Regions from separate parts of the Homo sapiens genome. Here all the other regions are linked to region 1. Evidence: promoter capture Hi-C in human tissues and cell types (Jung and others, 2019). All regions are on one chromosome and are shown on one strand. The core of a region is centred on a gene start or on the middle of the fragment in contact, and the rest is flanking DNA. Distances in the headings are between cores, read along the strand shown. Region 1 holds the start of CTIF (cap binding complex dependent translation initiation factor). Region 2 has its middle 38 kb from the start of CTIF-AS1. Region 3 overlaps CTIF (cap binding complex dependent translation initiation factor).

Region 1 (3,060 bases), core at 1-2,500:
AAAAAAAAAAAATTGGCCAGGTGTGGTGGCGGGCGCCTGAAGTCCCAGCTACTTGGGAGGCTGAGGCAGGAGAATGGCATGAACCAGGGAGGCAGAGCTTGCAGTGAGCCAAGATCACGCCACTGCACTCCAGCCAGGGCAACAAAGAGAGACTCAGTCTCCAAAAAAAAAAAAAAAGAAAAAAAAACTTAGAAATTCTTTGCTCAAGTATCACTTCCTCCAGGAAGTCTTCCTGACCCTCTCCCAGACCCCACCCACCCTCCATCCAGTTGGCTGCTCCAGGTTGTGTGGTGGGGGGAATTTCACAGCACTTTGTGTTAAGCGCTGACTTATCCCTTGTATAATACTTTCATTGACTGTAGTCCCTAATACTGGACTGAGCTCCTTGAGCGCAGAGACTGTGAGTCTTACCTGTTTTGGCATTCCTAGACACACCTGGTCTGTGGAAAGTGCTCACTAAATGTGAATATAAACTAATGAATAAATGGGTTTCTACAGCAGTTTATACTGCATCACACAGTTCCTCTAATGAATTTCTAGCCCCCTTCCCTGTTGGGGCATACAGTATTTTATTCAGTATTTCTCCTGAAGGCCTCTCTGTGCCAAGCTCAGTTTTAACCAAAACATTGGTGATCTGGTTAAGTCATTACTGAATTATCCACTACGTTGAATTCTCCCAACCACCCCGTCCCAGCCCTTAGCTTGGCCGAAGGAAAATTAATTGGTTGCAAAGTGCGTATCTAATTACAACAGCCAGCCCCCGACACAGAGATGCTCAAATGTTAATTATAACATATGCATCTCAATAACCGACGGTGGCATTTAGTGCAGCATTAATCACGCCACTTGGGCCCCCCAGTGCATACACAAAGCTCCTTTTCATCTGCCATTAGCACAGACTTTGCACTTTCGGCACGGACGTTCTCATCCTTAAAGCCTTTCGGACTCTAAAACCAACGTTTCCCTGTAAGCCTGGACTGCGCCTAAGCCCCCAGTTCTCCCACCGCAGAGGCCCCCACCCAGGGCTGCGCCAGCGCCGTGGGGTCGCTGGGCGGCGGGTTTTGGCGTCGCTAGACTGGGCTGTCTTGGCAGCTAAGGCGACATCCCGAGCGTCCTGGGGCCACCCTGCTCTCCAGGGCCCGCCATCCTGGAAAAGAAAGGCGAACTACATTACCCAGCAGGCCTCCAGCCGCCCTCTTTCCTTTCAAGTCTTTGCACGTGGCCGGAGGGGAGGGCGGGGCCTGAACGTCACTCTCCTACATTCTCTTTCCCTGTGTCAGATCAGGGATCATTTTTTTTCCTTCCTCTACTCCCTCCCCCCTACCCGCCCCTCCCTCCCTGTTTCCCTTCCCTCCCTCCCTCCCCTCTCTGCTGGGTCTGTGCGCTGGGGCGCCCGATCCCCTCCGCAGCTGGGACGCTCCGAACTCGAGGCAGGAGTCGGCTCTCCGGAGCCTCGTCCCTCCCTTCCCCTTCCCTGCCCCCTTCCCCCACCCCCGACTCGGGCTTGGCGCGGCGGCCAGAGGAACCCCGAGGTGAGCATCTCCTCGCCCGTCCTCCTCTTATAGTCATCTCAGCTTGCTGATCGATTCGGGGACCCGGGAGGAGGGCTGCGTGACGTGGGCGTGCTTATAGATAAATCCGGGAAAACCGCCCCAAACAATCAGCCCCCTTCCCCCCATCCCTGCTCCTGGGCCAGCGGGGTGTCCGCACCCATCTACCATCCCCTCCTCCCCCTCGGTGGGGAACTGCACTCCACAGTGTCGCCCCCTCCCTGGGTTTGTCCCATTCCCTGCCGGGTTCCCCGCCCCGCGGGGTGTCGTGGCCCTGGAGCTCCGGCGCCAAGGGGGGCTCTTGGGGGACGCACGGCTGGAGCCCGGCTCGCTTTGGAGCTGCGCGGTGTAGCCGCTGTCATGTGCCGGGTTCCGACCTGGGAGGAGGAAAAGAGCGAGCGCGATTCCTCTCCCTTTTGTTTTGAAGCCCGCATTTGCTGCATCGAGCAGTTGGTTTAGTATCAGCCAAACTTGCAGCTGTTCAGACCGCGCTCCGCCGAGGTAGGGAGCCCGTCTCGGGGTGGCGTTTGGGGGCCGGGGGCTGCGGCACTCGGGGCTGCGGGAGGGACCCCGAGAGTGTGTCGCCACGCCGCCCCTCCCTTCCCCGGTGACTGATTGTGTCTGTGGCAGCGGGCGTGTGTGAGTGTGCGCGCCCGTCCCCGCGGGCTCGGGGATGTCTGTGGATGGCTGTCGTCTAGACAGGGCGCAGCCCCCTCCCTGCGTCCCCGGTGAGCCCGCGGGCCGCGGGGGGAGCGGGGGATGGGAGCAGAGGAAGAAACCAAATCGGTGGACCCGTTGCGGTCTCCCCTTTGGTTATTCCCAACGGTTGTGGTTCTGTTGGCTTTTTTTATTATTCCTGTCGCTGCGGTGCAATCGGGCCTGGGGAATAGATACGCCCGGCGGAGAGGGGTTCACTTGACAGGCTCTGAAAAGCCACCTCTGGGTGGCGAGTGACCCGAGAGGCCGTGGGGTGGGCTCCGGCTCGGGTTCATCAGGACGACGAGCAGGTAACTGTCCCGGGCGCCGGTCATGGGGGAGGGCGGGCGGGGGGGCGATGGCTTGGGCTGCGGCGAAGGTCTGGGGCCTCGGAGGGCCGCGTGCCGGTGCCTGGATGTGGCCGGAGGGGGCGTCCGGGACACCGCGCGCCTGAGCCGAGTGTTTCTCTATTGATGGTAAAAGACAATCGGGAGGGGGGTGGTCCGAGCCCGTTATCTGGGCGGCGTTGGCTCTGTTTGGTTCCGCGGAGTTTTCAGGGTTGGGGCTGGGGGGTGTGAGCACCGCGGGGTGTGCGGCGTGTAGAGGGGAGGGCTGACTGGCGGCGCCGCGTGCGTCTCCACCCCGAGGAGTGAGGCGTCGCCTCCCCCGCCCGGCTGTTTGTGTGTACACACGGCTCCGGTGTGTGTGGGGGGCGGGGACCGCAGACCGCGGCGTAGTGGGGACAAGCGTGGGCCCCGATCCTCCGCGCGACCTGTCCCGCCAGCCCCCTCCTTGTCTAAGTCGGGGTCGTGTG
Region 2 (3,060 bases), core at 379-2,878, 340 kb after region 1:
GACCTGTGGGATGAAGGGGCAGGACGGTGGCTCACAGCGCAGCGGGGTGGGCGAGGCCAGCAAGGTCTGCTACACTCTGTGTAGGAAGTGACCTTGTCAGGGCTGACCAGTGGGGAACAATACTGAGAAAGGCGGAGCCAGGAAGCCACCCGGTCACCTCAGGAACCCTGAGGTGGACGCAGAGGCCAAGGTCAGACTCCAGGTCTGCAGGAGCACCCCCGAACCTGGTCATGAACGGGTGTGAGCCTGTGTGTGAGAGAAAGAGAAAACAAATGTGCACACGACAGGGAATTTGGTGTGTGAGACAAGAGAGTGCTCGTGTTTTTGAGAGTGTGCGTCTAAGAAAAAAAAAATTGTAAGGATTTTGTGTGTGGGGTAGAATATGTACACGGAGAGACCTTTCTGATTCTGAGAGGATGTTCTTGTAGGTGGACTTGCTGATTCCGAAACTAAACAAGAATCTCCTCATCCTCAGGCCGGGGGCACCCAGGGCAGCCTGAGCAGGGAGAAGTTGCCCCGGCAGCCTCCTGTCTCCTTTCGAGGGACTGGTGGCGCCTTCCTGCCCCCTCCAACATGGACTCAGGGTCTTCGCTTCAAAGTGCTGAGCCGGGGCCTGGGAATTCCCACACACCCACCCCCGCCACCCCTGCCTCACCTGGCGGTTGCCTCAGAACCAGAAGCCACACAAATATGCCGCCGAGCCGGTGGGGCGGCTTTCCTGTCAGCGGCTGCCCTGAGAGGGCCAGATCTCCATTATTCATGGTCCTTCGGTGAGTGACACCCACCCCCTAACCTTGAGGGATTTTCGAGAATGCTGGCTGGAGGGCTCTGGGTACCCTGCTCAGGCTGGAAAAGGCTTCCCCTTCACACACTGGCTGGTTTCTCCAGTCGGCCCCCAACAAGCTGTGGGTGGCTTCAGGAAGCCCCTCCCTGGCCAGGCGAGGTAATGTTGGGAGACCGACAAGGCAACCAAACCCTATGCCCAAGATTCTTGACCTTTTGGGGAGGTCCCAGACCTCTCTGAGAGTCTGAGAAATTGAATAGATCCTTTCTCTAGAAAAATTCTCTACAAATTTTTACTGTAATGTCAGAAGCTTTTGAGTCCATTCCTCAGTTCCATATGGGTCCTCAGACCTTGGTTAAGGGCAATGGAACCCCCAACACCAAAGCGCTGAAATTGCCAAAATTATAGCCCTGGCAGCAGGAAACTCCACTAGAATCTCAACACATAGAAGATACTGGGAACATTCTGGTGAATGAACGTGTTCCCCACCAGCTGTGATGTGAGTGGTGAGCAGGCAGGACTCCCTGGAGTCTGGCCTCCACCACAAACAACTTTGGGACTTGAAGCTTTATTTATTCACTCAATGCTTCTTTTTGGTTTTGATTTTGGTTGGGTTGTTTTTGTTTTTGTGTTTTGTTTTTCTGGGATGGGAATCTCACGATGTTGCCCAGGCTGGAGTGCAGTGGCTATTCACAGATGTGACCACAGCACACTACAGCCTCGAACTCCTGGGCTTCAGCCATCCTCCCGGCTTAGCCTCCTGAGTGGCTGGGATTACAGGCTGCACTACCACACCTGGCTTCAGTGGTTGTTACTGCCTACAGACTTTGTGCCAGGCATGGCCATATGATGAGGATATAAAATAGATGTATAGACACATTTTCTGCCTTCATGTTGCTTATAGTCTAGGGTGAACGAGAAAATTAATTGAACACCTAAGTACATATGTAATTCTATGAAGTGGCCAGGGATTATGACTAAACCCCTAGGGCTTCAGTTTCCTCATCTATAAAATGAAGATAACTATAGTTACTTGCTAGTCTTTCTATGAGGATGAAATGAGACCACTTATGTTAAGCACTGAGCGTGGAGCCTGCACAAGAGGGAGCTACAGAAGGCATGGCGTGTGAGTGAGGCTGGTCAGCAGACAGAAGTGAGCCTGGCCACTCTGTGATGGCAGAGCCTTGGCAAAAACCAGGCCACTACCATCTTGACCAGCCTGGATGCTGGGGCTGGAAGGGTAGCCATTTTAGAGGCAGCCTCCAGGCCATGAACATCACTAGGCAGCAGCCAAGCCCTGTATGAATGGGGAGCAAGTGGTCAGAGTAGGAGGAGGCCAAAGCTGACCCTTTGAATGGCCAAGTTGAAGCAGGGGACTGGAATGACTTCTCAGCAGGGGTGGGTTTTAAGATCTGTGCCAATTTCTACTTCTGGCTACAGTAGACTAGCTTATATATCACACCAACTTTGCCACCAACCGAAAAAAGAGATAAAATACATTTTTAAAATTTGAATCTAGAAAGATGAGCTTAACATTTGGCCCTACTTTTCCCCTAAGCAGTAGCATGAAGTTCAGAATGTGAGCAGGAAGTGGAGACTGAGGTTTTTGCAACCTCCTGGAGTTAGAGAAAGAGGAAAGGGGAGAACTCAAGCATCTCCAAGTGGAGAGATGGCTTGTTTAGAAAAAAAAAAAACTGTCAGTTAGGACCCTTGAAGCACAAATCAGAAATAGGTCAGCCCTCACAAAGGTTGAAGTGCAGCTTCAAACAAACTTAATCCCACATGGGATTAAAGTGCGCTGCCTCTACTCTATCTCCCTTCCAGAGTCAAGAGTAAATCCTCTCTGGATTATTCAGAGCCTCAAATTATCTCTACAATCCTTCCATATACCATGTCTGGAAGTCAATAACATTTACCAGGCATGACAGGAGATAAGATCATATGACTGAAACTAAGAGGTGGAAAAAAAACACAGCTAATAGGAATAAACCTGAAGGAGATCCAGATATTATTATTTAAAATAGCAGACTTTAAAATAATTGTGATTGATATGTTCAAAAAAATTGGAGAGATAAATAATTTAAGGAGAACTGGAAACTCCTAAAGGTTATCAAATGGAAGTTCTAGGCAAATACAAAATACTACAAAAAATAATCATCATCATAATTAACAAGCAATGAATGGGTTTAACAGCAGATTAGATGTCACTAATAGAAGATTAGTGAACTGGAAAACAGGTCAGTATAAAATATTGAGCAATGAAGCACAATGAGAAA
Region 3 (3,060 bases), core at 142-2,641, 320 kb after region 1:
TCCCCAACCTCAAAGCCGGTGCATCTCTCATGCCTTAACAGTTCTAGGGGCACGAGGGTTGTTGGAGGCATTTACAAGTCCAGGGGAAGGTAGGTGGATGGCTTCAGGAGTGGGCATGGACTTCTGCATCCAGAATTATCCACCCCAAGCCAGAGTGAACACTGATGGTGAGAGCAGCTCACCCCTGACTGAAGGGAGAGAGAAGTGATTCCCAGTGGCATTGCCTACTTCCCTGTCCCCCAAAGACCCCCTGCGCCCCAGCTCAGGCATGCCACACAAATGACTTAAGAAGTTCCTGATTACCTCTGCCCTCAAATATTTCCCTTTGCTTTGCTAATGCTTGGCAATGCAGTGCTGGCACAGCCCACCCGAAAGCACACCTCTTGGGAGGTGCCACTCCTGTCCCTAAGCTGTGGCCCCTGCTAATGGAGACTCTTCCTCTGGGCTCTCCCTTTAGCGCCTGGCTTTGGCCCAGTCCCTGGGCAGATCTCTGCCCTCTGCAGATGGTCCAGAGTCACTCAGAGTGGGATGCAGGCAGGAGAGGGGCTTCCAGACGAGGACCTGGGCCTGGCAGCTGTCATAAGCATACTCAGGTGGCTTCCGCCTGGCTGCAAAGGCCTCACTGAGGAGCTCAGAGGCCAGAAGCACTGGGAGCCAGATGGCAGTCTTGGGTCTGTGGGACTCAGTTTGTTTGTTGGCCTCCAGCTGGGCACCCTACAGGGGGCTTGGGATTAGGGGGGAATTAGGGAGAAGGAGAAAGCCTGGTCCTTGCCCTCAGGCAGCTTCCAGTCTGGTTAGGAATAGCTCTCAGAGAGTAGATAGAATAAGTGTAAGTACAGAGACATCCCTGAAGAGTCAGGGGAGAGAGGTCAGGAAGGGCTCAGGGGTTCAAGGGAGGCTTTGTGAAGAAGGCAGAGACTAGAAAAATGAATGGGACAAGGCTGGGGACCGAGACGGGGACTGAGATTCTATAGAGAGGGCCTGGGGGGCACTGGCCAGGGGTGTGCTGGTCCAGGAATAGGGGCTCCTTCCCAGTGGGCTTTTCAAGATTATCTAGGGCTCTCCTGACGGCCTCTGGCTGGCCTTCTTCCCCAGTTTGTATTTCTCTCCCCCACTTCCTGTCACAAGCATGAGCAGAGGTCACTTCTGGGGGCTGGGAGATGGGATCAGGATCAGGAGAAAAGGAGAGCGAGAGAAACAGGAGGCATCACCCCTGCTCTCAAGTTCCAATGGACACATGTAATAATGACTAAGCTCATTGCCAGAGAGACGCCCCAGCAAGTGAAAATGACCACAGGGCCCCCTGATCACCAAGGGGCACAGATCATGGAGCCATTTGAGGGTGCGGATGTAGTCAGGGAAGGCTTCCTGGAAGAGGGAGGCTCTTGGGTAAAAGGGACAAGAGGCATGTTCCTGGTGACAGCTCTTTCAGCCCTGGGCAGTAGGCAATATTCGGATCCCTCTGGATCCTGCTGGCAGATTGGTTGGTAAATGTGAGCTCTCACTCTTGGCTACTCCACCTTCCACTCTCCCTGTCCTCATTCCAGCTGTGGCACAGGGGTCTGGGCCTGTGTGTCCTTAAGACAACCCAGCTATTTCCTATCCCTGCCCACCTAATCAGGGTGGCCAGTGGGCCACTGTGGGACCCGAGGCCATCCTAACCCCACATCTCTGTCTGCAGCTGCAGAGTACAGGCCGGCTGCTGGAGGAACAGCTGCCTGAGATGATGACAGAGCTCCTGGCCAGCGCACGGGACAAGATGCTGTGCCCCTCGGAGTCCATGCTGACCCGGTCGCTGCTCCTAGAGGTCATCGAGCTCCACGCTAACAGCTGGAACCCTCTGACGCCCCCCATCACGCAGTACTACAACAGAACCATCCAGAAACTGACAGCCTGACAGCCAGGGGGCCTGGCAGGCGGCCCACGGGCAGCTGGGGCCCTGGTGCACAGGGCCAGATGGACAGGCGGGAGGACAGGGGTGGCCCTGGCGGGAGAAAGAAATGGGGAGGAGGGCAGGCAGAGTCGGTGGCCAGTCTGGAGCCAGACGGGGAAGGGAGCAAATCCCTGAGAGGAGTGCCCCCGCACAAGCCCCCCAGCCCGAGCATGCAAGCTCACACCAATAAGGGAAGCATGTTTCTTTTTCCTGGTGGCCCTGGCCCTCCCCTTCCTCACTCCCGCCTCTCCCCTCCCCATCAGACCCATCCCCCACGGAGCTTTGTGTGAGGGATCTCATCGCTGTGACTCCTCGGAGACCTTGGCAGCCTCGCACGCCGGGGCACCGCTTGGGTCAGAAAGGACCTCGGAAGGCTGAAAAAGTGGGTCGGAGACGGGCTCGCATTGTTCCCGCATGCTGTCAGCCGCAGTCGCCAACTGGCAGCAGGCGACGTGTAGCAGATGTCCGGGAGGACAAAGGCAGGCACGGTCCCCACCAGCCGCCCGTAATTGACGGCCTTTGTCAGCCATGGCAGAGCTGACGCTCCACCTCCCACCTCCAAGTCCTCCTCACTGCAGCCCCCACAGCCTCAGGCCTAGGGGGTCAGGCGCAGCGGGGGAGATGGAGTTTGCAGTTCCACTTGCACTCTTTTGTTTATTGTGTTTTATTTTTCAAAAGTCGGTTGCTTTGAAGTCTCTTTGGCCAATGAAAATGCCCGTGATGTGATCACACAGTCAGCACTGTTGAGGACCCCCGGATTAGTGGGAGATCAAACCCAGCTCCCCTCTAGAAGAAGGATTCGAGCCACAGACAGCTTGCCAGTAGCCAATTAGGGTAATTGGAAACTTCTGCCCCGGCGGGGGGTCCCCGCTGGAATCCTGTGTTCCTCGCCACTGGCTTCCAGCGCCTCTGTTTTCTCAAAGGGCTGATACTGTCACCACTGGGACCAAGTTAAACCTGGTCCTGGCCCCAGGGGCCTTGTGGCAAACAGGGCACAGAACGAGACTGGCAAATTAAAACCAAAATTCTAGATGGTGTCTTGCGCTCCACACGCAGGTCTTACTGGGGAAAAGGATGGGAGTGGGGGCTCCCCAGGACTCGATTTTAGCTAATGCGCTGTGTCACTG

Evidence for each region. Contacts are between HindIII fragments. The study calls those that stand out against the background at their distance.
Region 2: a fragment that was not itself captured here is called in contact with the fragment with the promoter of CTIF in region 1 in 2 of the 25 tissues and cell types used here (mesendoderm cells and thymus).
Region 3: a fragment that was not itself captured here is called in contact with the fragment with the promoter of CTIF in region 1 in 1 of the 25 tissues and cell types used here (dorsolateral prefrontal cortex).

What each region holds. Positions count from the first base shown.
Region 1 is chr18:48,537,781-48,540,840 of GRCh38, forward strand. CTIF (cap binding complex dependent translation initiation factor) reads left to right here and starts at 1,251. Exons shown (of 12, transcript NM_014772.3): 1 at 1,251-1,532. RefSeq lists silencers at 1,357-1,436, 1,937-2,296, 2,727-2,816. The HindIII fragment of the contact is 11,515 bases long and covers 1-3,060 here.
Region 2 is chr18:48,878,523-48,881,582 of GRCh38, forward strand. No RefSeq gene overlaps it. Among named protein-coding and RNA genes, the nearest start is that of CTIF-AS1, 38 kb to the left of the region's middle. The HindIII fragment of the contact is 4,384 bases long and covers 1-3,060 here.
Region 3 is chr18:48,857,663-48,860,722 of GRCh38, forward strand. It overlaps CTIF (cap binding complex dependent translation initiation factor), which reads left to right. Exons shown (of 12, transcript NM_014772.3): 12 at 1,682-3,060. The coding sequence ends at 1,897. Among named protein-coding and RNA genes, the nearest start is that of CTIF-AS1, 17 kb to the left of the region's middle. RefSeq lists an enhancer at 44-545. The HindIII fragment of the contact is 4,424 bases long and covers 1-3,060 here.